Regions from separate parts of the Homo sapiens genome. Here regions 1, 3 and 4 are each linked to region 2. The links are contacts of gene promoters, found by promoter capture Hi-C in human tissues and cell types (Jung and others, 2019). All regions are on one chromosome and are shown on one strand. The core of a region is centred on a gene start or on the middle of the fragment in contact, and the rest is flanking DNA. Distances in the headings are between cores, read along the strand shown. Region 1 overlaps LOC399975 (a long non-coding RNA gene). Region 2 holds the start of KCNJ5 (potassium inwardly rectifying channel subfamily J member 5). Region 3 holds the start of BARX2 (BARX homeobox 2). Region 4 holds the start of LOC105369571 (a long non-coding RNA gene).

Evidence for each region. Contacts are between HindIII fragments. The study calls those that stand out against the background at their distance.
Region 1: a contact is called between a fragment that was not itself captured here and the fragment with the promoter of KCNJ5 in region 2, in 1 of the 25 tissues and cell types used here (pancreas).
Region 3: a contact is called between the fragment with the promoter of BARX2 here and the fragment with the promoter of KCNJ5 in region 2, in 1 of the 25 tissues and cell types used here (aorta).
Region 4: a contact is called between a fragment that was not itself captured here and the fragment with the promoter of KCNJ5 in region 2, in 2 of the 25 tissues and cell types used here (dorsolateral prefrontal cortex and liver).

The regions. Positions count from the first base shown.
Region 1 is chr11:129,272,394-129,279,657 of GRCh38, forward strand. The region is part of intron 1 of LOC399975 (a long non-coding RNA gene); the gene reads right to left. It also overlaps a transcript of ARHGAP32 not described here. Among named protein-coding and RNA genes, the nearest start is that of ARHGAP32, 84 kb to the left of the region's middle. The HindIII fragment of the contact is 6,553 bases long and covers 1-5,187 here.
Region 2 is chr11:128,885,226-128,892,669 of GRCh38, forward strand. It overlaps KCNJ5 (potassium inwardly rectifying channel subfamily J member 5), which reads left to right and starts at 6,131. Exons shown (of 3, transcript NM_000890.5): 1 at 6,131-6,496. The HindIII fragment of the contact is 9,287 bases long and covers 1-7,444 here.
Region 3 is chr11:129,372,292-129,379,433 of GRCh38, forward strand. BARX2 (BARX homeobox 2) reads left to right here and starts at 3,557. Exons shown (of 4, transcript NM_003658.5): 1 at 3,557-3,931. The coding sequence starts at 3,745. The HindIII fragment of the contact is 19,007 bases long and covers 1-7,142 here.
Region 4 is chr11:129,301,673-129,308,390 of GRCh38, forward strand. It overlaps LOC105369571 (a long non-coding RNA gene), which reads right to left and starts at 1,234. Exons shown (of 3, transcript XR_948174.3): 1 at 1,186-1,234; 2 at 1,010-1,069. It overlaps LOC105369572 (a long non-coding RNA gene), which reads right to left. Exons shown (of 3, transcript XR_948175.2): 3 at 5,653-5,835. The HindIII fragment of the contact is 3,938 bases long and covers 2,085-6,022 here.

The DNA.
Region 1 (7,264 bases), core at 661-3,160, 380 kb after region 2:
ACATCCTACACTCTCATCTGCAAAAGGGGATAAAGAGAAAATAGAAAACGATTAGCTTCCTTTCTAAGGCTACAACCCAGAAATCACACATACCACTTATGTCCACATCCATTTAGCCAGAATTTAGTCCACATCCAACTATAAAAGAGAAGCTAGGAAATGCAGTTTCTAGCTGGGCCAACATGTGCCCAGATAAACCCTGAGGATCCTATATACTAAAAGGAAGCCACAGAGAATGGCATTGGGTAGACAACTAGCTATCACTGCTGCAAGTAACAAAAGGCATGGATGCTAACTGAAAGAGGATTCAGTAAAGAGAGAATGATATCTTAGGAAAGAAAACTGCTAGAATAGAAGACCTGTAGGCAAGAAGAAATGAGATCCAGGCACAAATGTACTGCCTCAGGAACAAGCTCACTTTGGTCTCTTGTCACTTCTCGCACGCTTTATTTTTCAGAAGGGTTATCCGTTGATTGCATTTCTAGTAAATTAAAGTAAACCTTTCCTTCCATCTACTAAATCAATTACGCAGAATGTGTGTAAAAATCTGGCTTTAATTGAGCAGTTCTTACTTGGGTTGTCTACCAACAGGTTGATTCAGAGCTGCTGCTTCTCCATCAAAGACAGAATGACCAAATTTCAGAGTTGGAGGGAGTCTACAAAGCCCATTTTACATGTTCAAGGTCACAAGGCTACAAAGTATCCTCTCCAATAGTACATCACAAGTCCTCAAACTGCCAGATCATTCCACTATCTCCTTGCTTACTTATAATATTCCTTTTCATAAAATAGTTTGTCTCCCCATGAAATGAACACCTCCTGAGGGCAAAGACTCAATGACACCTTCTTACCTATCTATCTTCCACTGCTTGAAGCATGGCAGGAGACACACAGATGTACTCAGTGGATACTTGTCAGTTCACAGATACAAAGAGATGTGGTTTCCCTTATCCTACTGTGTCAGGATTGCTATTCCTACTTAATCTGGAGGGCCACTGAATATAAAACAAGAAGGAAGGTCTGTCAGATTCTCCTTAGGTAGGTCAATGGAAACTGGACCTTTGGAGACAGAAATTACTTGTCCAAAGTCACAAGCTGTTTACAACAGAGCCAAGACAAACATCCAGGTCCTCTTGACTCCAGGTTCAAAACTCATTTTCCTGTTAAAAGTTGCTTCACTTTTTTGGTCTGTGTTTGATATCCTGGGTAATTACTGAACTTCACATGATATATTCTGCACAGCTACTGAAGATGCTACTCATCTTAAGAGTCCTTCAACCACCTATATTTCTCCAATGAAAGGAGGAACAGGAATTACTGTTTCCATGCTACACACAGGGAATAAAAGCAGTGGAGTCAAATGGCTTGCTTCACATCACAAGGCTGAAATCCAAATAAGGATTTTACTATTTTTAGGGCAAACTGATAGAATTTTCTAGAAGATTCTCTCCTAGAGTATGATGCTTATCTTTTCAAACAGAGACAAATTGGACATAACATTTCCATAATGAATGGTTCACACATGCTTTTCCTCTCAATGCTTTCCATCTCCACAGCCTCCAATATTATGTATATTATAATCCAGGATATAAAATAAAATAGTAAATAGATACATAGCCGGAAGCAAAAAAAAAAAAACAACTGTGTTTTGAAAGCCAGAATTTTACTTCTATTCTGAACATTCAGATTCATGTTTTTCTCATGAGAAATTAAACCAAACACCCATTTCTCACTTCCTCTTACTTGTCCTACAACAATCTCCTTTAAATACAAGACTAGCCCTCCCTTGTCCAGTAAAACTGAAAATATCTACTTTATAAAATCCTTACACTTTACTACCTTGGGGAATATTCCTGCTCAAGCTTCATCTCTCCAGATAGGAAACGTCTGGTTTGGTTTGTTTTTTAACCTCAAGAGAAAACTCTGTCGCATCTCATCTTCTTTAGGTCTACTTTTTTTGAGGTGCTATAATCAGAACACCTTTCCAGGTGCTGTTCCCTGGTTTTGTGGAAGAGCCCTTCTGCCTCCATCTCACTGTTCCACCGAGGACAGCGTGGGAACATCAGTGCCCTCCCCTGTCTCCTCTGGATCATCTCACTTCACTGAAGCATCAGCTAAGGCCAAGAAACTGTACAGTTTGTAGAACTGCAAGAGCCACAATGACCCCAATTCTATTTTGTTTAACTCAGAACAATGGCCTTTTTTATTTGCTCACTCTTAGTTTGAGATTAATGTTAATAAACCAGCATTTGAAGTTGAGAGGCACACCAAATTTCTCAACTGTAAGATAATTTAAATCAAATACTTCAAAAAGCAGTGTAATATAAAAGTCTCTGGATAGTAAACTAGATCTATTTAGAAAAAAAAAATTAGCTTTTATTATTTCAACTCTGAGAAGCATGCCATAAAGATGTTAATGCAAATCATAAGGAAGACTTTAGAGTACATATACATATGGGGAAAATTATCCAACCCTGGCCTAATCAAAACCGACTTTTCTCATTCATCTTTCTAAAAAAAAAAAAAAGCCAGTACCAGTACCAAAATAGAAGTGGTATTTAAATCCAATTTATAAACTTAAGAACATTATCGGGAAATTATCAAGAATCAGGATCTATAAAAAACAGAAGTATCTTTCCACCCATTCTTAATGATCTGAAGTCAGCAAGTGATTAATAAAAATACACTACAGCATACAGGAAATTTCTCAAGTTATTCCGCTTATCAGCTGTTAACTAAGTTTCAGCAAAGGAGAAAATTCTATAGCAAACAGCATAACACTCAGGAAAATAACTCTATAATCTGGAGGTGATGGTAATATAAAATATTTTAGGCATACTTTCAGGTTAGAGTTTCTAATCATCATCATCTATCACTTACTGAGTGCTTACTGTATGTCAGAGATTGTGTTAAGCCTTAATATGTACCATTTCATTTAATCCTCACTACAACCTTCCAAGGTAGATACTACTGATATTCCCTGGTCACAAAGGAAATCTCTGAGGTCCCACGACATTAATTAGTTTGTCCAGGATCAATGTTTATAAATATCATAGCTGGTATGTGAACTCAAGTCTATCTGGCTCCAAAACAAAAATTAGTACCTTTCCAGGATTCTTAACCTTATAATGGCTATGATAGGAAATAGCACATATGCTAATTAAAGTAAAAAAAAAAGTTAAGTCCTAAATCGGGGGTTGGAAAACTTTTCTTTTAAAGAACCAGATAATAAATACTTGAGGCTCTGCAGGCCGAGCTATGAAAGTACTCCACTCTGCTGCTGCACTGCCAAAGTAGCCACAGACCCAAGAATGAACGACTGTGTTCCTACAAAACTTTACTGAAGGACACTGACATTTGCGTTTTATATCATTCTCATGACATGAAATTTTATCCTTCTTTGGATTGTTTTCAACCATTTAAAAATATAAAAATCATTCTTAGCCATGGGCCAGATATGGCCTGCAGGCTACAGTTTGCCCATCCCTTCCCTAAATAATGCAGACAAATTTAAAATATTTTTTACTAAACAGTTCTTACAAATCATTAACTTGTAACCTCCTTTGGTATTGTGAACTGATACTTTAAAGAAGTTCAAAGTCTTGTCCAGCCTTGGCACAGGCCAGTAGTCCCAGCTGCTCAGGAGGGCAACGCAGGAAGATCGCTTCAGCCCAGAATTTGGAGGCCAGCCTGTGCAACATAGCATGACCCTGACTCTATTAAATTTTAAAAAGCAGCAGCAGCAGTAGCTCACAGTCTCAATAAATTTGATCTGTCTCCAAGTAATTGAAAATTCCAGAGAGTTCAAAATTGCAAGTACTACCGGTGGATTTTCTAAATAAGACAGAGCACAGAATTTTGGAACTAGAAGAAATCTAACACGTTCTCATTCCTTATCTGTTTTTGTTGTTGTTGTTGTTGTTTTGAGACAGGATCTCACTCTGTTGACCAGGCTCAAGGGCAGTGGCACAATGATAGCTCACTGTAACCCCTAATTCCTGGGCTCAAGTGATCCTTCCATCTCAACCTCCCGAGTAGCCAGGACTACAGGTGTGTGCCACTACACTCAGCTAATGGTTTTTATTTGATTTTCTGTAAAGACTGGGCCTCTCTATGCTGCCCAGACTGGTCTCAAACTCCTGGCCTCAAGGGATCCTCCCACCTCTGCCTGCCAAAGCATTTGATTAGAGGTGTAAGCCACCCTGCCCAGCCTTTATATGCATGTTTTTTAAATTTCTGTTACAACATTTAAAAGAGTTTGCTAGGCCAATTTACCAGGTAACATAGGTTAGTAACTAAGTTTATACGTAATGACAATACTTTACATATTTAAAAACAGTTCTGCAGAGCATTTTCATATCCTTTCTATCATCTGATCCTTCACAGCTCTGTAAGAAAAACAATGCAAGCCTTCTGATCCCTATTTTATAAAATGCAAACAAGCTCAGAAATGTAAATAACTTGTCCAAGGAAGGTACGCTGTCACACAGCTACTATGGGGCAGAACTGCAACCACAACCTAACTTCAAGTCCTTGCTGCCTCCTGACTACTTCCATGGACATTGGACTTCACAATCATGGGTTAAATCCGAAAAATTCTCAAGAATATTAGTCTTACTCTTTAAAAGTTCAACTATGTTAAGTTCCTTTTTGTTTCATTCTTCTGCTACCACAGCCTTATGAAGAAAACAGATGCCTAGTCCTTAACATTTATTACATGCGTCTACGATCAACATACAGTGTGCAGATAATATACTCAGGTCAGCTTGGGAAGGAAAACACTTGAATAAGTCAAGAGAGAACAAGCAACAATAAAAACATCGTTTATATAGCACCGAGAGAGAGAGAAAGTAGAGATGAATGTATTGCCATTAGTGTCGCAGGCCAACTTCAGAAAAGCTTTTGGTGACTGGAAAATGATACGGAGGTTAGGAAATGAACACAGAAGGAACATAACTACTGGAATTCAAACCAACATCAAAGGCTCTAAAGAAGACAGTTGAGCCTGTCTTGCTGGTTCTTAGTCTCTCCCTAGAAAACAAAACAGTTACATAACTGGAGAAGGTTCTTCCAACTAACATTTCCTCTCTGTCCCACTTATGTTTTTCTCCCCCACTACTTCACCCTGTCACCCACCTCAATGTGAACGATCATACAGTAAACTGGGCTTCCACCTTAGCTGTGTCCAGACAAGTCTCTGTCCAAAGTGCTGCTTTATACACGGACTGCTATAGGGACCACGGTACGAAGATAACTGGCTTAAACACAATTCCAACCTGACATTTCCATAGAGACACCTGCTCTATGAAGCATCACCATATATCCAATTCCAAGAATGACTCAGACTCCAGACATTCCTGAAAATGGAAATCACAACATCCTAATGCCTCATCTTCACAAACAGCCCCATTAAAAAGAAAACACAACATTGAGTACTTGAAAAACTTTGAGGTCATGTTGTAGTAGTAATTAAAGCTTCTCTTTCCTTCACACTCAAGTCCAAGGAACAAATATCGATTCTCAGTTAGACTTCAATGTATCCAATAAGGAAGGATATATTGAGTCACAACCATAAATACTCAAAAATATTACAACAAATCCAGTCACTGATTCAAACTAGCAAACTGTGGAGACTCTTAAGAGCCACCGCACTCCAGCACCATTTGCTTTTTCTTCTTCCAATAGAAATACAAACATAGACAATGTTTACAAAAGCAACCAATGTATCAGAAAAGTTATCCCCATTCAGACTGACTTAAAAGGTCTAAATCTGTGCCAAATAAAACTCTGAAAGAATAGAAAATAAAAGAGATGCTGACAACAATGCTATGGCCCAGCTGCCAGCTAGCCATGTAGCATCACGCAGTGCCCCAAGCATTTTAAAGACAGATTGTAACTCTGCATTCAGATCAAAATTATAATTATCCAAATTCTATTTCCTAAAAGATGACTATTAAACTGCATCCCAAGCATTCTGCTTGGGTCTCCTCCTTCCTTCCATCTTCAAGTTTCACAAACAGAAGGTGAAGCTACAAAAGGTCCAAGGTAGACTAAAGCTAAGAAACCAAGTCTGATTTTCTCTCCCTACCGTTTCTTGTGTACTGCTTAAGAAAATCTTTAACATAAATATTTGATAAAGTCAAAAAACGGGAAACCAAGGTACAGGGGTGGCGAGGAAGCGAGGGGGAAAAAAGGCACTAATGCACCACCGTCGTCCAACATGCAGCGGCAACTTCAGTCAATCGGAAAGACGAGGGGGGAACTCCACGGGAGCCTAAGGGAGCAGAGACCTCTGGCCCCGCGGGGCCCACGCACACCTGGGGGCGGGACCCGCGATGTCGCCCGCGGGCAGCGGAGGGAAACGCTCCCGCGGCTCCTCCGGGAGCGCCGGTGTCCCTGGAGCCCCCACTCGGCCGCTCCCAGGAGTCGCGGCTGCCGCCCGCCTTGGGCCCGGGGCGGAGAGCGCTGCGGCAGGCCAGAACGCCGTCCGAACGCCCGGCTCGCGGAGGCCGCGGGGAGCGCGGGGCGCGGGCGCGGGAGGCGGTGGGCCCGCAGCGCCGTCCGCCCCGGGAGGCCGGGGAGATGGGGCCGGGGGCGGGGGGACAACCGAGAGGCTCCTCCGGGAGCATGCGATCCGGAACCCTCACTCTAAAAAGAATATTTTAAGAAGGAAAGAGAGGCCCCCCGCAGCCTTCCCCGCGGGGCCTGCCCACGTCACCGGCGCCCCCGGCCCTCCCGCGCGCCCGCCTTACCGAGCCCCGCGGCCCCGCCGCGCCGCCGCGGCGTCCCTGCGCCCCGCTGGCCGCTCCGTGTCTGCCCTCCGCGGGCCGGGCCCGACGCCCTCCGCCCGCCGCCGCCGCCGCCGAGCGCCGCCCGCGCCGCCGAGCCTAGCGCCTGGCCGCCGAGGGCAGCCGCGGGGGCTCGGCCGGGCGTCCCCCGCGCCAGCGCCTCATCCCGCCTCGCGCCCCGTCAGGCTCGGGGGCGGGGGCGCCGGGCCGCGGCCTCCAAGTCCCCACCTCCGGCACGCACCGCGCTCGCCCTCCCGCGGCGGAGTCGGCCCCCGGGGACGCGGGTCCTCGGGCTCCAGAGCCTCTCACCCTGACGCCTTCGGGCCGCCCCCGCAGCGCCCCCGCCCAGCTGGCCGGCGCGTGCCCCCGCCGGAGCCCGCCGCCCGCCCAGCCTCCGCCTCCTCCGCTCCGCCTCCTCCTGCACCCGCGACGCCCGCAGCGGGGAGAAGAGGCGCGCCGCCGCGGCCGCGGGCACG
Region 2 (7,444 bases), core at 4,881-7,380:
CTCAGGCACCTGGGCCTGGACTCAAGAGTGAGAGGAAATTCAGGAACGGGAAGCTTGTTTCAGGGAAGCTGAAGCTACCATTGGTGCTCCCTATGGTCAGAATTCAATGGCATTAAAGGAACAGTGAATTTGGGATCATCCAATGACAAGTGGGAAGCTTATGCACTGGGAGAAGTCAAGGCATCAACATGAATATCAGGCCACTTTCCCAGAGAGCATGTCTGTTTTGAGTTGTGAGATGAATAGGAGGCCTCTTTAACACATCCTGCAAAGTCACTAATGACAGCTTGATGGCCTGGTCAATGATTAGGGGTTTTTTTTCCCATTGGCCCTATTTTCCATGACTTTTCTGGATCTGTACTTACCTACTTTGGACCTCTGCTGTGTTGCACACAGGTTTCATGGGATAAATACTATGAAAGAAATATTCTATTAACGAGGGACGCCGGCACACTGGCCACTCAATTTTCTTGCCACTCTTCCTTTCCAGGTCATTCTGCCACCCCAGCCTTGCTGACCTCCAGCCATCCTGATCACTCCTCTATCTCCTGTTCTGTATCCTTCTCCCTCTGTCCCAGATCTGAGCATAGTTCCCAGCTCTTGCCTCTTCTCCTTCTCTCTCCACCCTCCTCCAGATACCTAAATTATTTCTCAGAGTTTCAGTCTTCTCCTCTCTGCGGATGACATTCCAAAATCTCCACCCCATCCTCAACTCCCCCGTCATCACCAGACATCCATTCCTGCCTCTTCTCAGACAACTCCACTTAGGCAATTAGTGGAGTTGCCACTTTTTGTGGAGTTGCAATTAGTGGAGTTGCAATTAGTGGAGTTCTCACCAACCTTCAGTTAGACATGCATGCAGCATGTCTAGAATCAAACTCAGCAGCTCTCCCGTCCCAGTCACCTACTCCTGCTAATTTTCTCATTCCTGACATCAGGCATGCACGCATTCAATAAACATTTACTTGGGTTTTAAAAAACAAGGTTTACACCCTTAAGGAACTTGTAGATTGCAGGTAGAGGAGAGAGACAGGTCACAGAACCCCCAACACATGTGATCGGCGCTCTATCAGAGGGAAGCGGAGGGGTCAAGGTGTCCACAGAGGAGGGGATCTCAGTGCCTCTGGAGATTCAGGGGAGCTTAGCCCAGCTCAGCTCCAAGCCATCCAGTTTCATTCCTCTTCTCCTTTGGGCTCCTGTTGACCCTTTCTCAGCCACATCTTCTACATCATGCTCTTCCAAGCCCCAGTGTGCATAGTCACCTGGAGAGCTTGTTAAAAGGCAAATTCTCTTTGAGCAGGTGGAGGGTGGAGCCTGAGATTCCGCATTTCATACATGATCCCAGGGGGTGGCACTGTTGCCGCCAGACTGTGCAACCCACTACCCGTCCCAAGGCTCTTTCTTCCTTTGCCTTGTTGCAGCCTTATCACCTCAGGCCAGCACTAGGGCCCAGCCCACGAACGCTCTCCCTGCCTCCAATCCTAGACTGTGCAATACAGTAGCTGCCAGCCATAGTGCCTACTTAAATGCAAATTAATTAAAATTTAAAATTCCCTTTCCTATTCACAGTAGCCACATTACACCTAGGCAGTAGCCACAATGCCACATTATACAGACAAGATATCAGGCATTTTCTTCATTGCAAAAGTTCTGTTGGGTGGCACTGCACAATAATCTCAGCTCCACCTAAACTAACCACAAACTGACTACCAGCCTCACCACACTCTCAGCTCCTTGAAGGCAAGTTCTGTATTTGTCTTGTCATTTTTCTCTAAGTGCAGAACCTACCCCATATCCTTTCTTTCATTTGACAAATATTTATTGATCATCTCCTATGTAGCAGATGCTGTGCTTAGCACTGCTAAGGGGCACCCAGAGGTGAACAAGACAAACAGGGTCCCTGTCATTGCAGAGGTCACAAAGCACGTGCTCCATAAGTCTTCACTGAAATGAATAAATGAATGAATCATACACAGACAACCCCCAGGGAAATCTTCACAATGATTTTCATAATTCTCCCCAACTCAGAAATTCTTAATACTTGCTTTCAATCTGCAGAAGAAAATCCAGATGCCACAGCCTGGGATATGAGGCTCTTCTGAGAGGCAGAGATGCGTGGTTAATGTCTTCGTTTGTTAGGGCTGCCATAACAAAACATCACTGACGGGGTGGCTCAAGTAGAAATTGATTTCCCACAGCCCTGGAAGTTAGGAGTCCAAGATCAAGGTTGTCAACAAAGTTGGTTTCTCCTGAGGCCTCTGCTCGGCTGGGAGACAGCTGCCTTCTCCTAGTGTCCTCAAAGTAGTTCCTCTTCTTATGAGGATACCAGTCAGATTGGATTAGGACTCACCCTAATGGTCTTAGTTTAATTAATTCTTTTTTTTTTTTTTTTGAGATGGACTCACTCTGTTGCACAGGCTGGAGTGCAGTGGCACGATCTTGGCTCACTGCAACCTCCGCCTCCCAGGTTCAAGGGATTCTCCTTCCTCAGACTCCCGAGTAGCTGGGTCTACAGACATGCCCAGCTAATTTTGTATTTTTAGTAGAGACAGAGTTTCCCCACGTTGGCCAGTCTGATCTGAAACTCCTGACCTCAGGTGATCCACCCACCTCGGCCTCCCAAAGTATGAGATTATGGGCATGAGCCACCACACCCGGCCCCTTAGTTTAATTTAATCACCCCTTTAAAGGCCCCATGTCCAAATACAGTCACATTCGGAAGCACTGGGAATCAGGGCTTCAACATCTGAATTTGGGAGAGACACCGTTCATCTCATAACAATTAGAAATATGATCTTGGAAACTAACAAAACTGGGTTCTGCTAGCAGGTCTGAAATTCCTGCCAGTGTGAGGGGACTTGACTTGTCTGAGCCTGTTTTCTCTCCGGAGAAAGGTGCTAAAGCTACCTCCCTCCCGAGGCTGTCGAGAAAATTACAAGCAATTACTTACGTGAAGCATCGAGCAGAGCTCAGCACATAGTAGGCACTGCGTTAATTACAGCCACTGGCATCACCACTTTACCGCCCAGATCCCCCAGCAGCAACCCTTCCCTTTCTTGTGGTCCCTGAGCACCCTGAGCCTTGCCTGCCCAAGCCTTGATTTCCAGCCCGGCTCCTTGACTCCTCTCCCTCTCATCACATTCAAACCTTAGTCTTCCTTCCCTAAGTCCTTCAGACCTTCCTTCTCTGCGTAGCCTTGCCGTCAGAAGTCAGTCCCAGCTCCTCTTCTCCGAGCTGTGTTAGCATTCCTGTCAATTCCACACCAGCTCCCAATTAACACCTAGGAATTAAAATCCTATGCTGTTAATTTGTCTGCTGACTTCCCCCCACCCGCAGACATGCCACCTTCCCTGTTAGATGTGAGACATTTGAGATCAAAGCCCACCATTATACCTTTTGGTCTCTCTCATAGCACCTATCAAAGTGTCTCAAACATAGTAGGCCTTTATCAACCAAGAGAGTGTGTGGACATAAAAATACATACAGTCAACATTCGCTAACTGAGTAGGTGTAGGTGTAGGGGTGTGTGTGTGTGTTTGTGTGTGTGTCTGTTTAGCATTTTAAAAGCCATGGGAAAGAGAAACACCAAACTCAGGTGGCTGGTTCTCTCCTGAGGGAAGAGGAGGTAATCTCACATGGATTTGGCAGTGTTGGCAATGCCTGGTTTTGTTTTTTTAAACTGGGTAGCAGCTACAGTATTATGTTAAATATTGCAAAATAATATGTCCTTACTCGATAGATATCTGCTGTTTATGGACGTATGAAGAATTCTCCTGACATGAGAAAAAATGCTTAAAATATTTGTTTTAGAAGCTATTTAGTTAGGATTTCAGAGTATAACTCAACAAACTCCTTTAATTAATATTTTATCTAAAAGGAAATATTTATGAGACATTACCAGGCTCCTAATGCAAATATAACTTCTATAAATAGGAGAAAAAAATAATTTTCTGCAAGTCTTATATTCTAAAGAGAACATCTTTAATTGTGAACCCATCTCCCGCTCGATGAAAGAAGGTAAGAGAAGCAGATAAAGAGAACAGAAGAAGTGAGGCTGTACTCTAATTAACAGTGATAATACATACACATTTTCTGTTGCTTTCAAGCACCGCCTCAGCAATTTTCAGACAATGAAAGACATACTTAGCACCTTGTACCGCTCCCTGAGTAGTTCTTTTATTGCATTGCTATCCTCAGATGTTGTCTGTGCTCTTTGAGAGGCTTGGGCCTCTCAAAGCTCCTCCAAGTTGCAACAATTGCTCAGGACTAGAATCCCCAAATTTCGCGTTTTTCAGTTCTCAGGTGAGACCTGGACACAAATTTTTCTGTCTCCCGATCCAAGGTCCCATCACTGAGAAAATCTTTGCAAAACAGTATTTCCCAGAGCACCCTATATTTTGCTTTAAAGTCAGTCCAGGTCCCCTGACCCCCACCCCGTAATGGCAAAAGGAATATCATGGTCTTTATACCTAATCCAAAAGCAACTGCTGCCCCAGGACAGAGCCCCTCCTCAGGGCTCAGCAGATGATTATAGTGTGTGTTATCTGGACCTGAGAACTGCACAGCCAAAGCCTCTCCCAAGAACTAGGCAATTAGGGAATTAAGAACTTTCTCCACAATAGTGTTAAGCCCTGAGGTCAAACAACATATGGTGCAGTGCGTGAGCACCTAGGCAAGCTGAGTCCCCTAAGGGGACACAGAGCTTTCCTGTTAGGGCCTGTTGCAGCCACATTTAACAATCACCCCCTCTACAGAGAGAAGAGGGGCAATCAGGAGGCCCACTCTGGCCGGACCGCTCTGTGCTCTGTCCCAGGGGAGGGTGCCTGGGCAACGGGCTGTGTGTACGCTGGTCTCCGAGGCAAGAGGACCCCCAGGCCACTGTTAGAGACTAAGTTTCCCTGTCACTGTCCTTACAGGAGAGGATGGACTTGGTGCCCTCCAGTATTAGTGACAAGCATTTTTCTCATTGCAACGTAATAAACCAGTTTTCTGGTCGTAGACATCATTCACCTAGCACTTGTGCTAGGTGCTAGGGCACCCCACGTTTGACCAGCTGTGTCTGCCCTGAGAGAGGGGGCTGGCAGGGGGGGTGTTGACCCCAAAAGGCTGGGTAACGGAGAGGGGCCAGAAGGAACACCACCGGGTGAGAAGGGCCACCCCGAACAGACCGGTCCTCAGAGGCACCTGCCGGCCCTCCCCAGACAGCAGCCCTCCCTTTCAGCCTGCCCTGGCAGCTGCCTTTCCTACGGCTTCCACGAATTAAAGAACACACTCTGGTCATCATCTGTCCTCAAGGCAGGTAGGAATCCAAAAGGGAGAGCCGGGAGGTGGCGCGGAGGACGCCGGCTCTGCCCACGCCTGGGCAAGGTTGAGCTCCGTTCCCTCCGGGCTGCTCCCGCCTCCTGTCCGTGCAGGGCGCGTTTCCAGCCATCGCCGCCCAGCCGCCGCCGCACGCCGGGGAGAGATCGTCCGGGGTGAGCAGCGAGCCCGGGGACAGCTAGCCTGGGTCCTGTCCCTGGACCTACTCCCCCTGCAGCTGGCGGATCAGGCCCCCGGACCCTCACTCCACGGCGGGAATCAGAGCCGTCGGGCGGGGGATGCAGCGCCCAGACTGTGGCTCCCCCGCCTTCCCAAAGGAATCCCCCCATCTGCTCCATCCCTCTCGGGAAACGGCGAAATGCTGCCAACCGTCCGCTTAGCGCACCGCGGAGCGACTGAGCAGCCCCGCCGAGGCTCCGAGCCAAGATTTCTGCCCTAATAGTTTCTCCCTTCTTTCTGTCTGCTCCACCGCACCCACTAAATACGCGGCGCTCACACACGGACACGCGTGACACGCGGCGCTCACACACAGGCATGGGACGCTCACACGCGCGCGCGCGGGTCTCCGTCCCTGGCACCCCGCAGCAGGGGTGCAGCCGGGGGCAGGGGGAGCCGGGGGAGGGCGCAGGGGGCCGCGGGGACGCGAGCGGAGGGCTGGATGCCTGCCGGGCTCTCTCTCCGCCTTCCTCTTCCCTCCCAGTCCTGCCGAGCTGACGGCGTCCCGGATCACATGGAGCCCCCGCCCCACCCCAGCCCGCCCCCCGCCGCCAACGCCGGTGGCCCTTCCAGTCGCGTTACTACCCAGAGATTCATTTGTACCAGGGACGGAGGGAGAGAGGAGAGGGAGGAGGGGACACACACACACACACACACACACACACACACACACACACACACAGAGAGAGAGAGAGAGAGAGAGAGAGAGAGAGAGATTGTTCCAGCTGCTCTCGCTAGAGAAAGGGAGTGACCCAAGGGGCCGCGAGTGAAGGGACAGGATGGCTTAGGTACCTCTGCCCACAGGACCCCACAACAGGGAGAGGTTCCAGCTACAGCTCCTCCGTGGGGTCATGGCAGGGGCTGGGGAGTCCCCTCAAAAGCCCTGAGCCCCCCTGCACCGCCGCTAAGGGACACCCCAGAAGTTAGCATCAGTGGGACTCGGAAGCTCCGATCTCAACAAGTAAGTTGTCTTCTTTTCCTCCTCCATTTCTCCCCCAGCTCGCGGGTTCTGGAGGGCAGGATGACACCCTCAGGTGTCCATCACCTGGGCAGCAGGCTTTCACAGGGAACCTGCTAGACTGGGAGCCAGGGGGGATAAGGAAAAGCTTAGGGCAGGTCCAAGTTTAGGAAATTGGAGATCTCCGTGGCTGCAGGCTGCCCTGTGCGTTGGGAGCCCAGCCATAAACACCTTCACTTCTGGCACTAGACCAGGGCTACCTGGGGGTGCCCCAGATCTCCCAGCAGTGGTTTGAGAGGCAACAGTGGCCAGGAGTGGGTGGGGTGTGGAGGACATTTTTCACCTGGTAGGACTCTTCCTTCAAATGGGAGCAGGGAGGGCCAGGATGGGGGGCGGTGCCCCCCTCAGCCTTAGATCCCCAGCCTAATCTTGCTTTCTCTTTTAAGTGTGGCCAAACTGGAAACACGGCCTTGTGATTTCTGCCCCCCTCGCTGCCCAAGTCACTTCCTGCGTACCTCCCTATCTCCTTTTAAAGAGCTTTCAAATGGTTCAGAAAGGCCAGGGGTCAAGCCTGTGAGGACAGAGGATAGGGAACAGAGAAGGCCGGCCTTGTCATTGCTCCCCTTCTCTTCAAGTCAGTGCTTCTCCCTGCAGAGCTGTTGGCCCCCTGGTTTTATCTGTGCCTTCCCTCAAACAGGGCTCTCCAACCCCAGGGGCTGTGGAGGGCCTCAGGTCCGGCCCCCAAAGTTCTAGGGCCTACCCTGAACATCAGGGTGAGCAACACCAGCCCAAAACCTGTTCCAGGAGCCTTTTCAAACACCAGAAGAAGATCAACAGGAACACGCCAAGTATTTTACTCTGTTTCAATCCTTTTAATAAGCTGAGATTATCATCCTCATTCTACAGGTGAAAAATTGAAGCCCAGAGAGGCTGTGCAATTTGCCTCAGGTG
Region 3 (7,142 bases), core at 2,307-4,806, 480 kb after region 2:
AAACTTGTATAAAGGCATGGATTATGAAAGCCCATCCTTGTGAAGTAGGTTTTGTGGTCACCATTTACAAATGAAAAAACTGAGGCTCAGCTTAGGGAGCAAAAGAGAGCGCAAGGCTCTAGACTCCAAGATCGGGCATCTCTCCCTCTCCACTGCACAGGGGACTTGTGCCCGCAGACCCCTTCTGAGATTTCTTGCCTCTGTAGCGCGAAATAGAAAAGATGGAAAATCCAAGGAGGTGAATTGGAATTTTTACTTCTTCACCTATTAAAACACTGCAGATTTCAAATCAAAGAACTCGTCTGCGGGAGTGTCTGGATTTTGTGAGTTTTGTGCCTGTGGCCGAGTGGAAGCGGAGAGGAGTGAGAGCGCTGGGCGACGCGGCCAGCCAAGGCGAGGCCGGTCCCTCCCGGGCTTGGGCTCTGTCCCTGCGCGTGAGCCGCCTGCAGCCTTCCGAGGGGCAGCACCGCGACCAGGAACACGCGAACGCGAGTCCAGACCCGGGTTTGGAAAAAGGGAAGAAGGAGAGGAGGAGAAGGGAAGTTAAAAAGAGAGAGAGAAAACAAGGATGAACGATGGGGAGAAGGGAGGGCAGAAGAGAGAAAACAGAAGCGGGAAATTCGACAGAGGAGGAGAGGCCCAAAGGGCGGGGAGCAATGCGGGGAAGGGAGAAGTGGGAGGGAAGAAGAGGAGAGGAGTCAGTGGCGGTGGAAGGAAGGGGAAGAACCAGAGAGAAGAAAAGAGGTTAAGGAAAAGAAGAGCAATGCAAAGTCGGGGCCCCGAATAGTGCCGCATTCTGTGGGCACACGCCGGGCAGATAGAAAGTATAGACGCGACGCGCTCGGCCCCTCGTCGGGCGTCGGGTCCTGGTGCTGTCGCTCAGGTGCTGGTCCCCAGCTCCAAGCCCGCCTCGTAGTCGGCGCTGCGGGTGAGATCGCCCGCAAGCACTCAGTTTACTGGCGGCTGCCTACCAGCGGCTCACTTTCCTCGGGGCGCCTAAAGCTCCCCGCCCGGCATTGCCCCGGGAGCGAACGCTGAGCCCCTGGGACCCAGCCCCGACTCGGCGCAGCGGTTTCCCTCTCGGCTTGCGCCCGGGAGAACCCCCTCCGTCGTGGCGTCGGACGGCGATGCCAGGGCTGAGCGGTGAGCTGTCCCGGGTCCCGCGCTTTGACCGCGGACCAGCCTCAGGGTCCCGCCGCGGAAGCAGGGGGCGCGCCTGGGGCCAGCCTGTAGACCCCAGAGTCCGGCGGCAGGACCCCCGGCGCCACCCGGACACCTGGCAGCAGTTCTCGCCTGCCCTGCAGCCGCCTCTGCATGGAGAAAGAGAATGAAAGAAAACAATTCTAGATGGAGAGGAGGGGAGGGGAGGCCAGTTTGCAAATACTTCGGGAATGAAGTTCCTCAAAGACGCGTTGCGGGCCTTGTCTAATGCTAGGCTGTGACTTGGCCTCTTAACATCTATTTTCTCACGCCTGTAATCCCAGCACTTTGGGAGGCGAAGCGGGTGAATCACGAGGTCAGGAGTTCAAGACCAGCCTGGCCAAGATGGTGAAACCTGGTCTCTACTAAAAAATACAAAAGTTAGCCGGGCGCGGTGACAGGCGCCTGTAATCCCAGCTTCTCGGGAGACTGAGGCAGGAGAATCGCTTGAACCTGGGGGGCAGAGGTTGCAATGAGGCGAGATCACGCCACTGCACTCCAGCCTGGGCGACAGAGTGAGGCTCGGTCTCAAAAAAAAAAGAAAAAATCTATTTTCTCTAACAGCCTAATGATTAGTCCTCTGGGCGTGTCCCTCCCTCCTAGTTTAATCACCGGCCCAGGCGCCCTCATTTACTTGCTTCCGCGGCCACCAGGGCCCCCTGGGCAAGCAGCTCCGCAGAGAGCCCGCCGGCACTCGCGGACGCTTCTAGGCTGGGAGCGGGGAGGAAATGTCACCGGCCCCAAACTCGGCCCTAGGGAAGGCCATCCGCGTCTATACTTCTCAGTGTCCCTGTCGTGCGTTTTCCTTCCAACCCCATGCACACTCATTCCAACATAAAGTCGTGGAAACGGGCGTGCACTGGGCTGTTCCCGCCGAACACCGGGCGCGACTCAGGCTGCCGGAGGCTTCCCGGGCGCGGAGGCTCGGCGGGGTCCCCTTTACGCAGCAATTCCAATGAACAACTAAAGTCCGTACAGATTTTGATTGGAACAGACCCTAAGACTAAGAGCCTGGAAAGAAAAAGGCAAATCACCCAATAAACGCCTGTCTTCGCGACTCTCTAACCCGGTCGTATCGCGAGGGATCCGGATATTGAAAGCCCCTTTGCCGGAAGACTCGGGCGCTGGGAGAAGCCCGCATGGGACAGGCTGCCCCAGTGCCCGCCGGCTCCCTAGAATCGTGCAGCTCTGACCCTTTCCAACGAGGAAAAAATGTTTTTATAAACAATGTTTTAAAAAAAACCGCACACTTTTTTAAAAAGTCAGAATCTCGCTCTTGTCGCCCAGGCTGGAGTGCAGTGACGAGATCCCGGCTCACTGCAGCCGCGAACTCCTGGGCTCAAGATTTCCTCCTGCCTAAACCTCTCCAATAGCTGGGACTACAGGTTTCCTCTTGCCTCAACCTCTCCAGTAGCTGGGACTACAGGCGTGCACCACCATGCCTGTTTTTAATTTTTCTTTTGTAAAGACAGGGTCTCCCTATATTGACCAGGCTGGTCTCGAACCTCTGACCTCAAGCTATCGTCTCACGTCGGCCTCCCAAATGTTGGGATTACAGGCTTGAGCCACCGCGCCCGGCGATAACTCACACTTTTATTAGTTTTTCTTTTCTTATCTTTTTTTTTTTCTCAGTTTTTTATGAGGGTAACGGACGGGGCCAGGGTCATTTATGATTTGGGATCTTGGGGCAGTCAAGTTTGCAACTTCAGCTCAAAAGTCTTACGCTCGGAGCGCGCAGGCTCAGCGCGGGCTGCGAGACTGCGAGTGGAGGGCTTGGGAAGCCGCGGTCTTCGGGAAACCGTCCACGCGGGGAAGGAGAAAGGCACGGTGGGTCCTCGGGGGCACTGGCTCTGTGGCCCGAAGTCCCGGGAGCCTAGTGAGGACTAGACTTCTTTCTAGTAAGAGACCTGAACGTGCCCTCCCGCTGGGCTGCGGACACTGGGAGCCGGGCCGGCGGGTGGCAGGACAGGCAGTAAGGTGCTCATGGGGAACACTGCCCCGGGGAGCTACCGGCCTGGGCCTTGGCCGCGGGCTGGGGCGGTGCGCGCTCCCCGCACCGCGCGCACACTCCTGCACACACACCTGGAGCGCGTCCCGGGGGGGAGGGGGAGGAGAGCCAAAACGAGCGTCTTAAAATAGAGAGCCAGGCAGAGGAGCGCGAGACACCAGAGCGGGAGGCAGCGACTGAGAGCCGCCGGGCACTAGGCGCGCAGGTCGGCGCCGGAGTGGCACGGGCGGGCGGGGGCGGGGTGGGCGCGGACGCCCCTCAGCACACACTCCGCACCCGGCCCTGCAGGAAGCTCGCGCTGATTGACAGCTGCGTTGTCCCAAAAAGGCTCAGCGAAGATGCTGATCTGCGGGTGGGTCTAGACGCGCGGCAGGCGCGCCCGCTACCCGCTCTCCTCCGCGCGCCACCCGAGCCCCGCCGCCTCCCCAGCTGCCGGGAGCGGGGCCCAGGCCCCGCCGTCGCGCCAGCCCCGCGGCCCCAGCGGGCCGGGCACTCGCAGCCGCGCTCGGGCCGGCGGACGCTCGCGCCGGCTCACCATGCACTGCCACGCCGAGCTGAGGCTGAGCTCGCCCGGCCAGCTCAAAGCAGCCAGGCGGCGCTACAAGACTTTCATGATCGACGAGATCCTCTCCAAGGAGACCTGCGATTACTTTGAGAAACTTTCCCTCTACTCCGTGTGCCCGTCGCTGGTCGTGCGACCCAAGCCCCTGCATTCCTGTACGGGTAAGACGCTCCGCTAGGGGATAAGTGGGGTTCGGTAGCTTTCACGTCCGTGTAGGTGGCCTGTGCTTTGCGATCCGAGGGCGAGAGGAAGGGTTAAGTTAAGGGATTCTTTTCCTGCGCCTCAGCAAGCGGTGGGCATTGCAAAGGCATCTGCGACGTGGCCGGGAAGGACCACGCAAGGTGTGGATGGCACGAGTGGAAATAAAGGCGGCAGGGCCTTAGGAGTGGGCTGCTCGCGCAACGCCTGATTGTCCTGCTCGGAGGAGAACGCTTCCTCGTTTCCTGCTGAAAGTTCAAACACTTGAGCAGGTTCAGCGTCTAAATCGTTGTTTCAGGAAGTGGTGGTGTGTGTGAATTTCAAACTTGAGCTTGGCGGCCTTGCATCTCACCTTGAGTTAACTTGTCCAGCCTCCTACTGTCTCCACTGTGAATTTTGCAAGTAAATCAGTATCCTGAGGTTCTCAACAAAATCTCGAATTCACTGAGCTTTGCTTACAATGATCGCCCTCTGAGAAAGTAGTTCTGAAGTACATTGTCTTTGTGGCACAAGCCGAAAAGGTCACCCTCGTTTGTCTTAAGTCAAGCCGAAAAGGTCACCCTCGTTTGTCTTAAGTGACCAAAACCAGCAATGGTAACAATGAAAACATTACTCACACCTGGTTTTCTCTCTTCACGGGAGGTAAGAGCAATAGTAAAGATAAAGAGAACTTAATACATATATTGAAAACGTAGTAGAGTTTCTATCGAAAATAAATCCAAGGTACTTTTAAAATTTTGAATGCATTAAGAGAAGATCCAAGTTTCAAAGTATCTCGGCATTGTTAGGATTTAGGTTATGGAACATGGGTATAATAAAACGAAAAAGAAGTAGGAGCACTTTTTATCAGAAAAAAGTTATTGAGTGTGCTTTCCATTAAAGGTAAGCATAAAGTATTTCCAAACCAAAAGAACCTTTGAGATTGTTAGTTGCATGAGAGGCATGAGATAAATTAAATTACACTTAAAATGAAAAAATGAAGGGCCAACAGTTTTGGAAGATATTTTTTGGAACATTTGAGTTGTTAATGCTCAATGCGTGGAATCCTGTATTTTCTCTTGGTTCCATTGATAGTCCCTATATGACAATCAGTAAACATATGATAAATACATACAGTGAAGTTCTTTTAAAACCAAATTGTTCCTACATGTATTTGGTTGTAAAATGTATACTGTATTCAGTTATGCCTTTTTAAAGTTAATTTGTCTGTAAGGTAGAATTAGGCCTGATGTCCCATAACAAGCCTTGTAATACTGAATTTTTAAAACCAAGAAATATATGAAACAAGGAACAAATAAGAAATTTTAGAAACAAGATAGATCTCCTGAGAACTGATATTTTTACATTTGTGTATAGGTGGTTGTGGACCCTTGGACACATACATACTGAATAGGGGTGATAAGTTGAATATTGTTTTGAGCACAAATCATCCTTTGTTATAATAACTCAATTCCCTTCGAGGAAAAAGAGAGGATCTGTTTCAGTCATTAACATTGCGTATGGGACATTCCCAGGACAAAACAGAACAACTTCTAAGCACCTAGGTAGAGCCTAGTGCCGGCAGAATTTTCAGTGACTTTGTGCTGTGTTGACTTGAAGGCAGCTTTTCCTGGCTTATAGGAGTCACAGAATTGGATCATAGAAGAAAACGTGGCAGAAGAGGAGTAATAAATAGCTGCAGAGAATAGTCATTCAGTCAGAGGTGGCTGAGTAAGTGTCGTGTTTTATTGAACCTTGTGTGGGAAATAAATCAGAGGAAAAAAAAATGATTCATATGTAGTTTTGTGAGTGTTATAAGTGAAATGCACGTATTTCACAGACTTAAGTGTTGCTCAGTCTTGTGCTTTTCGAAGTTCACTGATGGTTCGTGGTAGAGGGTGGCTGTTGGCAATGGTTTTCTGGCTCCGTTATTCCAGTACTTTCTTCTTTCGGATTGTTAGTTGAAAATGTGTCGTTATTTTGCTCTAGTTGAGAATTAAAATATAGAAACTGGGATTTGCTGGTGGAATTAAACCCATAAAAACTGGCTACAATAGTTCATACTTTCAGATCATAAGCCTTCAGTGGGTTTACAGTTACAGTTAAAGCCTTACATGTATTAGATCATGGGAATCCCATTAGTGTCTTCTCAGGGGTTTTGCAAATACCATACTTTCAAAGCATTTTTGTTTTTAACAGTTAAGGTCAGGACAAAAATCTTTGATTAGATGAATGTAATCTTTTTTCTTATTAATTAAAAACAACAACAATAAGTTGCTGGCATCCCAAAGGACACTGTAATTTTCTTCTTTTCTTTTCTTTTTCTTTTTTTTTTTTTTTTTTTTGCTAGATGGAACTAAATGTTGAGCACTGGTGGTGGAAGCAATGCATAAAAAGTTCAAGTGAAAGGCATACATTGGAATTAAAGTTACTGAACTTTCTCAGCCTTTCATTTGCTGATTTAAGATTTAAAGACGTGTAACAGAAGTGAACTGTGTCAGGTAAAATAATGAAAACTAAGAGAAAAAAAAGGCCTCAAAATTAAAAAGTTACCAGCATGTACAATAAGTGCATAAAATTGGGATGGAAAGAAAACTACAGCATTAAAAAAAAAAAAAACACTGCATAATGAAACAGTTCATGCTCTGTGGATTTAGTAACCTAAAGGTCAATTTATGGTACCAAATATCAGGCAGAATAGCATGTATTCAAGCAAACTGAGAAATGGGAATAGTTTTCATCTCAGGCAGATAATCACCTGACAGGAATTTATTGTTCGACATTCTAGCCTTGATGGAATCCTCACCTTCCAAAAATTGTTGTTTAACAGACGCTTTCTTATTATAAACACAATAATTTTAGTCTTGGAAAGATGTCTCTAAATTTCTCTCGGTTTCCTAGTACGTCTCGTAAATCATCCTAATAGACACTGCAAAAGGGAATCCTTTCCCTGTAAGCCTCACCACAGAACGGTTTATCATCACATTTAAACTAAAATTTAAACAGCTAAGCCCAAAAGAATGCCTCCATTTGAAAAGAGTTGTGTCATTCAGGCCATTGGTGAGGGGTGGAATATGCTTAGAATTAAGTTAGTATATAAAAAGTTGGTTTTATTCTTAAATCTGTAAACAGTAATCCCTACTCAGAAGGCAGTGTAATGCCATTTAGAAATCAGCGATGAGCTCTCCAACTTCA
Region 4 (6,718 bases), core at 2,804-5,303, 410 kb after region 2:
TCCTACCTTTCTTTTGTTAAGATTTCCAGTTAATTGCTCCACTATACAAAGACTTAAGAAAATCAGTAAATCAGCTCAAATAAAACTTTGGTGAATAATATCAAGAATGTGACATGGATTGTTGGTGGGAGTGTAAACAGGTACAACCACTTGGAAAGCCATCTGGCAGTACTTAATGAAGTGAATGTACATATGTGCTATGACATCAATCCCACATATATAGATAGGAGATATACAACATATATTACATAGAGTAATAATCATATATATGTATATGAAATTATCCTGGTGTCCACAGCAAGGGAAACATTTAAATAAAATATCAGGCATGCATACTATGGAATAATACTCTGCAATTCAAAGCATTGAACTAGATACACATTTAGTGACCTGGATGGGCATTAACATCATAGTTTTGAGTTTCAGAAGCAAGAAAGAGAATGAGATGTAAACACAATGTCATTTATGTAAATTAAAAACACATACATATTGAATTCTGTATTTATATGGATCATTTGCAAGAATTCATAAGGGAAGAGAATGAGAGCAGAGATTGGGGATGAAGGAAGAAATCAATCTGTCAGTCAAGAGAGGAACCCCCCATACATTGATTATGATGCGTGTGCTATGAATTCACATCTCTCTACCTAAGTTTGCCTCCAGCCCTCCTCCCACAAAATAAACCTTTAAGGGAAAAACATTCTTAGATCTCCAAATATTTTTAAATGTGTGAGCAGCACTAGAACATGTAATTCTCTCATGCATAAAATGGGGATAATAATAAGAGTCTTACAAGGCTGTCAAGAAAATTAAAAGAAATCATATATTAGATACCCAAGTGGAGACATACCCAGATGCAAGGTGGTTGACTAGGCTCCCTAGCTGGTGAGGTGACTCACTGTGAACTTTCTGCCACTCTCACAGTGTTTGTGTTCAATCCCTGCCTCAGCAAAATGATAAATCATTACATCAGGGACTTTCAAAGTCAAGCAAATAGTCAAAAACATACGCAGTAGGTTAAATCCTCAAATGCAAGAGTATACAGTCCTGCTCCCTGTTGACTTCAGCCCTACGGAGAAAATAATACCTCTGTTGATTTCAGCTTAGAGAAGCTTATTACCAGCAATATTATTCCCTACAGTCAGTGTTAGCCCAACTCAATGCCCCTTTCTGAACAGTACTCACCAGAGAAGACAGTCCAGCCAACTCAGTGATTACCAAGCAGCATGCGCTGGGTGGTGAAGGCTAAAGTAGCCAACTGACACCGTAGGGAGGAGAGAACTGGCCAAAGTATAATGACCTAAACTGGCATTTGGTCAGATCATGGGGATTTTCTGGCCCTTTGCTCAAACGCCTGGCACTGCACGCTTAGGTCTTTTGGAAACAATGTCATGCAATAGCATAACCTGAAAGAGTAATTTAGAGCAGTTTATTGGAGGTGATGCATTGTTAGTAGCCATATTTACAAAGAATACTGGCCTGAGAAATATTACAGTGTCCACTCTTAGATACCTCTTTGTGGCTAAGGACACAATCTTACTAAAATTGAAATAAGGTGTTACCAAAATACTCTTTGCTACCAAACTGGTGTATATGCAGGAGGAAAGCAGTTTACCTTTCCACCTTATGAAGAAACTTTTTGGATATCTTGTCTATCATCATTATTCATAAAATCTGTGAATCACCTACTACTTAGCTTCAAAAAGGTGGGACATCTTAAAGGATTTGATAAACTAAAAGAATTCTCACCTAGTTACTATGGAGGAAGTCTGGCTAAAATCCAGAATTCCACATATGATCCCACAAGATCTCTTCCCGGCCTCAGCTAAAAGATTATTTAGGCTATGAATAAGGAAAAAAATTACAATTCCATAGTTGAGAATTTCAAGGGATCGTAGAGGTCTTCCAGTCTAACTTCTTTTTATCTTTGTAGGAATTATGGCTCAGAGAGGATAACTTGGCCAGTGTTGAGCAGCCAGCTCACTTCCATTCAACATACGTTTACTGAATAACCACGAGATCCCAGGCATCCTATTCAATACTGGAAATGCAGAAAAGTGTGAATAGTAAAGAAGTGAAGAATATGAGTTAGGCATGCACGCTAGGGCCAGTCTCCTTGTATTCAGTTTTACATTCACTGCTTCCTAGCCACATGTCCTTAGGCAAATTACTTAACCTGTGTATGCTTCAGTTTCACCATCTGCAAAATAGGGTGAGGATGGGTACACACTCACGGATTGTCGTAAGATTTAGAAGAGTAATATACTCTAAGCACATAGAGCAGAAAGGTGCTTGGCACATAGTGAGAGCTCTGTAAATATGTGCTAATTAAAATACCAGGTTTCTGCCCTCTTGGAGCTATCTATTCTTTGTTTAGTCAGAGAGCACAGCATATCGGGGCTACTAGCCCTTGCCCCAGTGTGCTGGGCTGTCTGACTAAACAAATCTAATTGAATTAGTGTTATATGCAGCCTGAGGCCACAGTCTTAACTAGTTTGTCCTTGAGTCTCCCCACTCCACCCCACAATGCCTAGTACATTGCCTGGTACATGGTAGATTCTATCAGTATTTGATGAATGAATGAATGAATGAATGACACACAAAACTAAAGGGTCAAAGAACAGGCATCCCAAGAAATATTTGACTAGTTTCTTCAAGAATGAGAAGGAAGAGGCCGGGCACAGTGGCTCACACCTGTAATCCCAGCACTTTGGGAGGCTGAGGCGGGCCGATCATGAGGTCAGGAGATCAAGACCATCCTGGCTAACACAGTAAAACCCCGTCTCCACTAAAAATACAAAAAATTAGCCAGGTGTGGTGGCGGGCGCCTGTAGTCCCAGCTACTTGGGAGGCTGAGGCAGGAGAATGGCATGAACTCGGGAGGCGGAGGTTGCAGTGAGCCGAGACGGTACCACTGCACTCCAGCCTGTGCGACAGAGCGAGACTCCATCTCAAAAAAAAAAATAAATAAATAAATAATGAGAAGGCAGAGCAGCACTTCTTCACATAGAGAAGAGACAACGGATTCTAGGGAGCTGAAGCCACGAGAGCAAAAGCTTGGAAGCGTGAAGGTGACTAGCTTTCTCCCCCTACGTATATGGCCTGCTCTTCTCACTTGCTTTATTTGAGGGACTTGGCAGTTAGACCTAGGTGTTCTGGAATCTGCTGTGCTCAGCTTCTGATGTATTACACAGCACCATTCTGATGAAATCCAGTGCTAATTAAGATGCTCAAGAGGTTATCAGCTGCCCTTCTCTTTAGCACATGTTCATTCAGAAGGAGCTGGCTGATTTCAGAAATCCAGCAGGAATTAAAGTACCGAATGTGTATTTTTTTTTAGTCCATCTGTTCATTGTGAAAATTTGATTACATTTTATTGTTGATGTAATAGATATTTTCCTTTTGTTGGATCCTCCTCCATCAGAAGCTGGATTGAATTATTTACCTGTGGGCATTATAAGTCACCTGGTGGTTCTTATGTCAGCGATATGTGGTTGTCACCCAATATCCGTTCTTCCCTTCTCCTATTGCAAGAGCATCCCCAATTTTTTTTTTTTTTTTTTTTTTTTTTGAGATGGAGTCTTACTCTGTCACCCAGGCTGGAGTGCAATAATGCCATCTTGGCTCACTGCAACCTCCACCTCCTGGGTTCAAGCAATTCTCCTGCTTCAGCCTCCCGAGTAGCTGGGATTACAAGCGTGTACCACCATGCCCAGCTCATTTTGTATTTTTAGTAGAGAAGGGCTTTCACCATCTTGGTCAGGCTGGTCTCAAACTCCTGATCTCAAGTGATCCACCTGCCTCGGTCTCCCAAAGTTCTGGCATCACAGGCGTGAGCCACCACGCCCGGCCCAGCATCCCCAATTTTTATCTGGGCACAGGGACACTCAGAATAAAGACAACATTTCCCAGCCTCCCTTGGACCCACATATGGCCAAGTGTCTAACTAGACTTGGTATGTTCAACCTCCAAAAAAATGCGTTTTAGAAGAGACATTCTCTTCGTCTTTCTTTACATCCTCTACTCTGGGTGGAATATAGATGTGATGGTTTAAGTTAGAGCAATCATTTCAGATCTTGCTCAGTGACCTTGGGAATGGAAAAAATCCACAGGGAATAAGTAGGAGAAGCTTGAGTCTCTGATACCCCAGGGAGTGCGATATGGGGATGTCTATCTCCAGACTTTTATCTGAGAGTGAAATAAGCTTCTGTCTTTGTTTAAGCTACTATAAGTTTGAGTTCATTGTTGTTTTTGTTTCTTGCAGCCTCATGGAATGCTAATTAAAGCAGCTTCCTATTGTTACCTACTGTACCATCTCCTTTGCAACCGCCAAGTCAGTTATTACTACACAGAATGAAACCCAAAATTTGATAATCGTCATTACGATTATGAGGATGAATGCACTGCAAAAACTTTGCCTCTTCCTTCCCCATCCAAATGATCACACTGTGAATTTCATGAACATTTTTATTATTTTTGGATTACCTCATTTGCATTCTATGAATGTCGATGATTAAGAGTTGGTCTGTGAGTAGGAGAGGAAGTAAGTGATAAAATATGTAGAAAAGAAGTAGAAATGTTACTGCAGCAATTTCAGTAGAAGAAAATAGTAGACTGTCTAACAGTATATAAATCATGGTGCTGTCATAATGCAGTGCTATGCAATGATTAACAATTGTGTTCTAGGCTGGGCGCGGTGGCTCACACCTGTAATCCCAGCATGTTGGGAGGCTGAGGCGGGTGGATCATGAGGTCAGGAGTTCTAGACCAGCCCGGCCAACATGGTGAAACCCTGTCTCTACTAAAAATACAAAAATTAGCCTGGCATGTGTGGCATAAGCCTGTAATCCTACCTACTCAGGAGGCTGAGGCAGGAGAATTGCTTGAACCCGGGAGGGGGAGGTTACAGTGAAATCGCACCACTGCACTCTAGCCTGGCCGACAGAGCAAGACTCTGTCTCAGAAAAAAAAATTAAAAAAATTGAGTTCTAGAATAGTATTTATTGCTTTGAGAAAATTAACAGAATATTTTGTCAAATAAAAAAGTAGGTTGTGGCCAGGCGCAGTGGCTCACGCCTGTAATCCCAGCACTCTGGGAGGCCGAGGCGGGCGGACAGCTTGAGCCCAGAAGTTGCCTTGGCAACATGGCAAGACCCCATCTCTACAAAAAATACAAAAATTAGCCGGGTATGGTGGTGCATGCCTGTAGTCTCAGCTATCTCAGCTACTCAAGAGGCTGAGGCGGGAAGATTGCTTGAGACCAGACAGTCGAAGCTGCAGTGAGCTGTGCTCACTCTATTACACTCCAGCCTGGGTGACAGAGAGAGACGCTCTCTTCCTCTCTCAAAAAAAAGTAGGTTCTACAATAATATGTAAACACACATATAAGTTTATGTGCATATATACATAAATTTATATTTCTATATACATAGAAAAAACATGATGTGTAGACATGAAAATGTTAACAGTAGATAACTCTGACCAAGAGGATTATAGATGATTTTTACTTTCTTCTTTTCTGTTTATTTGTATTTCATAATTTTCCATAATAAACACATATAATTTATATACATTTTAAGTTTTTAGGAAAGCAATTCTTGGGTGTGGGCAGATGAAGAAATAAACCCTTGCACATGTTTAAGGTTTGTATATGGCATTAGTCAGAGCAATGTTAAGCTATGCTGCAATAACAAACAAATCCGAAAAGCTCAGTGACTTAGCACAACGAAGTTACACTTATACTTCTTATTTATGTAGAATCCAGTGTGGGTCTGCAGAGACAGCCTTCCATCTGATAGCTCAAAGATCCATCTCCACTTGTAGCTATCAAGGTCACTGCAGCGGGAGAGAGGGATGAAGAAGATACTTACAGCCATAGTTTACATCACCTAACTGCAAGGGAGGCTGCTGGGACATTGGAGGACGTGTACAGGATTCGATTGCACAGTCTCTGCCACATACACCTTCAGTGATTATGTTTTCTCAACCAAAAATTAAATTTATGGGAGGATAAGCAAATAGTTGGGTTTAGGGTTCATTTTTTTAAATATGCATATAACTGAATATATGGTTGCATATTTGCTACAGGTTTTTATTTATTTATTCTAAGATGGCGTTTCACTCTTTTTGCCCAGGCTGGAGTGCAATGGCGCGATCTCGGCTCACTGCAACCTTGGCCTCCCGGGTTCAAGTGATTCTCCTGTCTCAGCCTCCCAAGTAGCTGGGATTACAGGTGTGCACCACCATGCAAGGCTAATTTTGTATTTTTAGTAGAGACGGGGTTTCACCATGTTGGCCAGGCTGGTCTTGAACTCCTAACCACAGGTGATCCACCTGCCTCGGTCTCCCAAAGTGCTGCAATTACAGGCATGAGCCACTGATCCTGGCCGCTACAGGTTTTTAAATAGTCAAAAATGGACTTGTCCATGAGGAAGGAGGAGGAAATTGGGCTGAGATGAGGCCAAAACTAAAAGTTGCCCTCTTCTCCCTCCTGACTCTTTAAGTTAAGCAACCTACCCATGCATCATGCTCCTGTTAATGCACAAAAGTAGGTTTCAAACCATAGTGGGAGTTAGAAGATGGAAGACCGAGGACTGAGACATGACAAGGGCTGACCAGAAGAAGAAATGAGGATTTCTGAGGGGCCAGGAAGCATGATACAGACCTCTCCCCTGAGACAGTGAGAATACCAGGAAGAACGGTGAACCAGCCAGAAAGT